2 separate regions of the Homo sapiens genome follow, and region 1 is linked to region 2. Evidence: promoter capture Hi-C in human tissues and cell types (Jung and others, 2019). All regions are on one chromosome and are shown on one strand. Each heading gives the region's core, a stretch centred on a gene start or on the middle of the fragment in contact. The rest is flanking DNA. Distances are from core to core; before and after follow the strand shown.

Region 1 (3,400 bases), core at 522-3,021, 36 kb before region 2:
TCAGTGCCCTGGGTCAGGGAAGAGAGAGGGAGGCCTTGTGGTGGAGGGAAGGGGAGGAGAGCTCACCATCAGAGGTGGAAAGAAGGTTCTAGTCCCTCCAGAGCACACTCAGGGATGCTTTCTTGTGCTTCTGTCCCAAGGCCTTGTCTCGACCTTGCTTACTATAAACACAGTGCTACATCCTGCTTTTCCTTTACTTCATTGCATAAACCTTCCCTGAATCGCTTCCAGAATCTTTAGAACCACCGTTTTTAAGGTTTGAATACTTGTATACCAAGTAAATGACCACAGCTTATTGAAACTCCTCTTTATAGTCAACCACTTAGGTTGTTCTATTGTTATTTCTAGAACACATAACTAATGCCAATAAATAATGATGATGGCACAGATTAGTATTTCCTGAGGATGGATCTCTTGCGTGGGTTCCAAAGCTCTAAGCAATTTATATGGGCCCTGGAGTTTCCTCCACAGCTCCTAAGGCAGCTCTGGCACATGAGGAGGCTGGGAAAAGAGCAGGGGTGATGGGTGCATCTGCCTTGGTAAGTGAACTTGTTGGTTCTGTCCCACGCAGCTTGGGTGTCGGTGTGGGGGGTGTGCTGCTGGGGTTGGAGAGGGGCCGCCCTACATAACGTCCCCACATAAAAGGGGCAGGTGTGCAGGTGGTCCCAGGGATGGCGGCAGCTCTGTCTGACTCCCCCCTACTGGGGGGCTATGGGGGCTGTGGGAGTGGAGGGTGAGGATCACCGTCCTCCAGGATCCCCCAACCCCTCCTTGGCCATTCCCTTTGACTTCCTTGGGAAAGAGTCCAGGCTTCAGAGGATTCTTTGCTCATTTCAATCTGACCCCATTTGAATCCCCAAGGGTCGCAGTAAACCCCAGGCACACAAAGACAGAGGCTTGTGGCTGGCTTGCGGTTGCTGTGATCACGATGGAATCAGACAACGGCTGCCCTGGCAGGCAGCACCCAGGCACCTCTCAGGTGGGAAAAGACTGAGCCAGGTGAATGTCCCAGAGCTCCAGCCAGCTCAGGCTCCTATGGGTGATAACTGCACTAGACACCTCTCCGAAGAAGCCAACAGAAACTGCATGCAGCGGCAACATGAGCAAAGATAAGTGTTGGGACCCGTTCTTCGCTGCCACCTCCAAGTCTGAACAGCAGGCTCTAAGGGGGGCATGGGAGCCCCTCAGAAAGGGCCACTGCCCATGCCTCACCTCCTGCCCGCCACTCCACTCTTTATTGTCCTACCTGACTGTAACAGGCTGCATGCTCAACATGGTGTCAGCTGCCCCAAAGAGCACCAGGAGGAGACAGGGGTGCCATTCGGACATGAACAGGAGCTCCTACCTGAATGTGCAGACCTCCGCCACTGGAGCTCTCGGGGGGAAAACATCCATGACAGCCTCCCTGAGCCTTGAAACATTTGCAGACCAAGCAGGCTCAGGTGCCCGTGTTTGCAGGCGGTTTTTTAGAACGTATCATTTGTCTTATATTGATGTACCCTTCAAAGCCCGGGAGGAAGTGTGGTCTTGTGGGGAGCTCTGTGCAGGCAACATGAGAGTCTGTATTGTCTTCCTAGCTCTGCCCCGGTTGTCAGAGGAGTCCATCTGGGCCACAGGGGTGAGGAGCCGTCACCCCTGCCTTTTGTTTAGCCGGTGACACCTCCCCAGTTGTGTGGCGGGTGATGCAGCAATAATGCCCACGAGCTCCTCTCAACAATCAAAACAAAACAGAGAGCCACTCTAAAACAGTGGCTTTCTTGCAAATGGAATATGCTGAGAATCTGTGACATGTGCAGGTCGGTAAGTGAGAAGGAAACAGGAACCACCAATCGATTCTGACAATGTAGAAAGCAGTGGAGGTTTGGGGCCAGGAGAACAAAAGACCTATGGGAGAGGCGGTGACCCAGGAAGGGTGGCCATGGACTTGGGTGCATCACCTGAGCCCTGTCACTTGGAAAGAACCCTAACGACCATCTTAATCCTGCCTGTATAGATACCTTACTGTGCCGCTGCTGGGTGTGAAGCGTGGCTACTAAAAATGTTCACTTCATTTTTAAGAAGTAGAACAGGTTCAAGGTTATTCCTGTAGACGACAGTGTCGCTCTCGCCCAAGTACACTGTGGGAGGCTTCCTTAGCAGGATCGAAAGGGGTGGAATTACAGTGGGCACTGGAATTGGCTGTGGTTCACACATGTAGACATGACTGTGAATTTCTTGTTTTTTTTTTTTTTTGAGACGGGGTCTCACTCTGTCACCCAGGCTGGAGTGCAGTGGCATGATCTCGGCTCACTGCAACCTCTGCCTCTCGGGTTCAAGCGATTCTCCTGCTTCAGTCTCCTGAGTAGCTGGAATTATAGGCACCTGCCACCACACCCAGCAATTTTTGTATTTTTAGTAGAGAGAGGGTTTCACCATGTTGGCCAGGCTGGTCTCCAACTCCTGACCTCAGGTGATCCACTCGCCTCGGCCTCCCAGAGTGTGAGGATTACAGGCATGAGCCACTGTGCCTGGCTGACTGTGGATTTTGTGGCAGCAAAGAGTTCATCTTGGTTCATCAGCTAAGACTGTGCTCAAGTGTAAGCCACTGAGTAGACTTGTTTATGAGTGATTCTTGGAAGCTTGCAAGGACTTCTTTTGAGTTAAAAAAAAAAAAACCTTCTGGTAGAGTTAAACATGAATTGGCTTGCCCTGAGAGTTCGGGTTTTATGTCACGAGAGGTAGTTAAATGTGGGCTGGGGGCCTGGTGTGGTGGCTAATGCCTGTAATCCCAACACATTGGTAGACTGAGGTGGGTGGATTGCTTGAGCCCAGATTGAGACCAGCCTGGCCAACATGGTGAAACCCCATCTCCACAAAAGTTAAAAAAATTAGCCAGGCATGGTGGCATGTGCCTGTGGTCCCAGCTACTCACGAGCTAAGTGGGAAGATCACTGGAGCCCAGGAGGCAGAGATTGCAGTGAGCCGAGAGGGCACCACTGCACTCCAGCCTGGGTCACAGAGCAAGACCCTATCTCAAAAAAAAAAAAAAAAATGTGGGGTAGACAAATATGGGGCAGGGTTGCTGTAAAGGGTGTTCACGTTTTATTTTGGAAGCTGAATAATGTAGACTTTAAATTGTTTTTGCAACATAGAGATCTACAGCTCTGGACTAATGGATCAGATTTTGCTAGTTGCAAAGATTTTTGAATTTTAATTGCAGTTTGCTGCTGTTTCACCCACAACAAAAGTAGAGGAAGAACTCATAGCTTATATGCAGTGATCATGAACTCTGGGGCTTTGTAGATGAGACTAGGAAAACTTGTGCAGGACCTGAAGTTGAACTGCCTTGGCTCTTGTTCCCATGTGCTGGGGGATGGGGCAAGGACATCTCACCAGGTATCAGTGGGTGGTCTACACTATT
Region 2 (3,615 bases), core at 899-3,398:
AGATGCAGGAGTTGGGAGGCACAGAGAGGACACAGACCTGGGTAGGCAGAGGGGGCCAGAGGGCATGTGTGTGTGCCCAAGAGGAGCCAGCTTACTGAGCACCTCATGTTTAAAATCCTGCCTGCACTTGCAGCTCAGGCTCCGTGGCCCCATAATGGCCTTCTCCAACACTGATGAAATGAACTTCGACTTTTTGACTTCGCTCCTGGACCACTCTTAGCTTTCGCTCGCATCAAGAATGAAATGATGGGGCCGGGTGTGGTGGCTCATGTTTGTAATCACAGCACTTTGGGAGATCGAGGCAGGAGGATCACTTGGGCTCAGGATATCGAGACCAGCCTGGGCAACATAGTGAGACCTTGTCTCTACTAAGAATACAAAAATTATCCAGGCATGATGGCGCGTGCCTCTAATCCCAGCTACTAGGGAGGCTGAGGCAGGAGAATCGCTTGAACCCGGGAGGCGGAGATTGCAGTGAGCCAAGATTGCGCCACTGCACTCCAGCCTGGGCGACAGAGCAAGACTCCATCTTGGAAAAGAAAAAATTATTAAAAAATAAAAATAAAAATAAAAACAAGAAGGAAATGATGCCTGGGGCACAAGTGGCTGCTGGACTTCCTCTTGTTTCCCCAAACACCACACTGCGGTTCCAGCAGAGCAGAGGTTTTTCCTTGCTTTGGGTCACTCACTTCTTGGGGGAGTTAATAAGAACCAATAATGCCAGTTTATTGAGCTGTGCCTGGCATGGCGCATACATTATCTCATTTGATCCTCACCAAATCCTGTGGGGGAGATACTGTTTTGCACCTACTTTACCCATGAGGAAAGAGAGACTCAGGAGGGTTAAAGATGTGCTCAAGGTCACACAGTGATCCAGATTAAAACCCAGCTTGTGGGACCCCAAAACCTGACTTTGAACCACTGAATTGAAGAAACCTGCAATCCTCTCCCTGATGGTGGTTATGTGCTCACGAGCACACAGTGGGGCTGCAAGTACACAGGTGCCCGAAGCCCTTCCGGGAAAACCCAGAAGCGACTCCTGTAAGAGCAAGGCCTGGGCTGTGAGTGTGCATTTCCTCTCCTGGCTGAGACACACCCCGGCTCTTCCCGGGGCCCACTTGCTTTTTGTCCCCTAGGAACTGAATACTCCGGGCTGTGGCCAAGGCCCTGCTGTGTGCTGGACATGGAGCCAGGCCTCACTGCATGTTCCCCTCGGTAACCCAGGAATTCCATTCTCAGAGGGACCTGATGTTTCTAGATCCATCAGTAATGACTTTAGTGCTCTGAACGGCCTGGGCTGTTTCTATTTATGATGTTGCACTCACTGGGCCAGAACCCCCGGCGGGCAGGCCTTGTCACCCCCTGGCAAGATGACCAGCTTTGGGCTTTTTGGGCACGAGAGCAAATCGACCAGTTTGGGTAGTTTTCCGGGTGTGTGGAGGCTTCTTCCAAAAGGCAGTCTGGCTGGGCTTATTCAGAAGGACAATCCAGATGCCCCATCCAACTCCAACAACCCAACCTCCAGGCTGCTTCCTAGGGAGCCACGCTACCCATGACACCCAACACCAGCGACATCAGGGAGAACGGGAGCCAGAGGGATCACCCTGCCCTAGCCCTCCGAGAACTGAGAACGCCCGATGTTTGTCTGATTGTACTACAAACACTTCCCCGGAAGTAATAAAAATGTGTCCACAGGACCCATGGCCTGGCCAACCTTCCTCCGAGCACATCCTGCGGGGACCCTGGGCAGGGACCTGTTTCCTTCCCCTGGTGACCTCCAGCGACCCTCTCTTTCCTTCCCTCACTCGCTCCCCTTTTCACTGCCTCCCCTTCTCCTGCGTCCAGGCTTTTGAGGGGAGGTGGCCTCAGTCCAGGGGCTCTCCGGTCCCCCGGGGTAATGCGATATGGGGGTATTTTATTTCCACCCTTAGGGACCGTGCCTGCCAAGCTGCCTCCCGGGCGCCCCGCCACCGCGGGCTCGACGCTGCACCCTGCCAGGACCAGGGCCAGGACAGCCACTTATCACCTCCCCGCTCAGGCCCCGGGAGCGCAGACCCTTGGGTAGCCCGCGCGCCGCCGCCTTACCTGTCAGCTGCGCGGCCAAGAGGAGCCACAGCCGCGGCCGCATCGTGGCGCGCCCGGGACACCTGGCCCCGGGGGCTCGGCGGAGACAGTCGCGGCTGGGGTGGGTGAGGAGCTGGCCGGGCGGGGCGCCTGGGTCGGGGAGCTGGGGGGGCAGTGGGGAGGGCGGGACCGGGCGCGGTGGCGGCGGGAGTCTGGTGTTGGGGACCGCGAGGTCTCCGCCCTCATCCTCCTAGCATTGCAAAGGTCTGGGCTGCGTTTCCAGAGCCCACCAGGACCCTCCGCTTTCCAGAAAGGAGGGGACACCGCCGGCCTCCCCCAGGCAGCTGCATGTGTGTCATCGCCCCCTGCCCCGGGAGGTGCTCAGGAAAGGGTTGTGACCCCGAGTGACAGTAGAGGCTCAGAGAGGTCAGGATGTGTAGTGCATGGTGGAGCTGGCCACTAACTCGGGCCGCTTCTTGTCTTGTTTGAGTAGCAATTGAGGGGCTCCTGGGTGCCCCGGGCTGGGCTGGGCCTGGAGTCAGCAAGCCCCAAGTCTTGCCCTCCCTTGCCAGGGAGGAAGGAAAGGTAACCGGCTGTGACACTGAGGGAGGTGAGCTGGGAACTGGAGGTGCAGAGAAGGCCCCGACGCTGTTTGTAGGTTGTGGGGGTGCAGCAAGACCTAGATCTTAAGAATTTCGAAGGACTGTGACGATCACCGGCTGCGCCCTGCCGGCGAGTGCCCTGGGGCTGGCTCTATTTGTTGCGCGATCCAGCCCTGGTGGGGAGATTTGTGAGGGGAGACCTGGCTCAGGCTGTGTCTTCCTGTTCAAACGGGGGTTAGTAGAGAGGGGGTTGGGGAGGTCCAGGGAGAACTGGGCATGCAGCCTGCAGGGGAGAGGGACCCCTTGGAGGGCTGCGGGAGAGGCTCCTTGTAAATGTCAACAAAGACCCAGCCAGGCAGGTCCATGGGTTACCCTAAGAGCTTAGAGTTTATCGGAGAGGAAATGGCGTGTCCCCTGAGATCTAAAGCAGGCAGCCGGGCAAGGACACTGTCACATTTGGTCTCCACATCCAGTATTCTTTCCATCCCACTCTTGCCCCAGCCCCTCTGCCCATTGCTGGTGACAGCATTGCTCATGGCTGAGTTGGGTGCAGAGAGTTCAAAGGCACTGGGGGAAAAGAAGTCACTCAGCCCAGCCAGAGGCCAGAGTCTCGCTGGATACTGCCTTGGCTCCCATACAATGTGTGGTCTTTAGCGAATGGCTTCTTTGACTCAGCGCAATGTTTTTCAGGTTCATCCCCATTATAGCACCATTTCTTCTTATTGTTGAGTAATATTTTGTGTATGTACCTGTATATACCACATTTTCTTTATCTGTTCATCTAATGATGGACATTTGAGTGGGCTACTATATCTACTTTTTGACTTTTGTGAGTAATGCTACTGTGAACATTCTTGTACAAATATATGTTTGGGTGCCTGTTTTCAATTCTTTCAGGTATGTACTCAGGCAGTGCAATTGCTGGGTCATACAATAATTCTATGTTTAA

What was found. Contacts are between HindIII fragments. The study calls those that stand out against the background at their distance.
Region 1: a contact is called between a fragment that was not itself captured here and the fragment with the promoter of CD8B in region 2, in 1 of the 25 tissues and cell types used here (psoas muscle).

What each region holds. Positions count from the first base shown.
Region 1 is chr2:86,824,608-86,828,007 of GRCh38, forward strand. It overlaps a transcript of CD8B not described here. Among named protein-coding and RNA genes, the nearest start is that of CD8A, 35 kb to the left of the region's middle. The HindIII fragment of the contact is 8,744 bases long and covers 1-3,400 here.
Region 2 is chr2:86,859,738-86,863,352 of GRCh38, forward strand. CD8B (CD8 subunit beta) reads right to left here and starts at 2,149. Exons shown (of 6, transcript NM_004931.5): 1 at 2,086-2,149. The coding sequence starts at 2,128. It also overlaps the pseudogene ANAPC1P1. The HindIII fragment of the contact is 19,466 bases long and covers 1-3,615 here.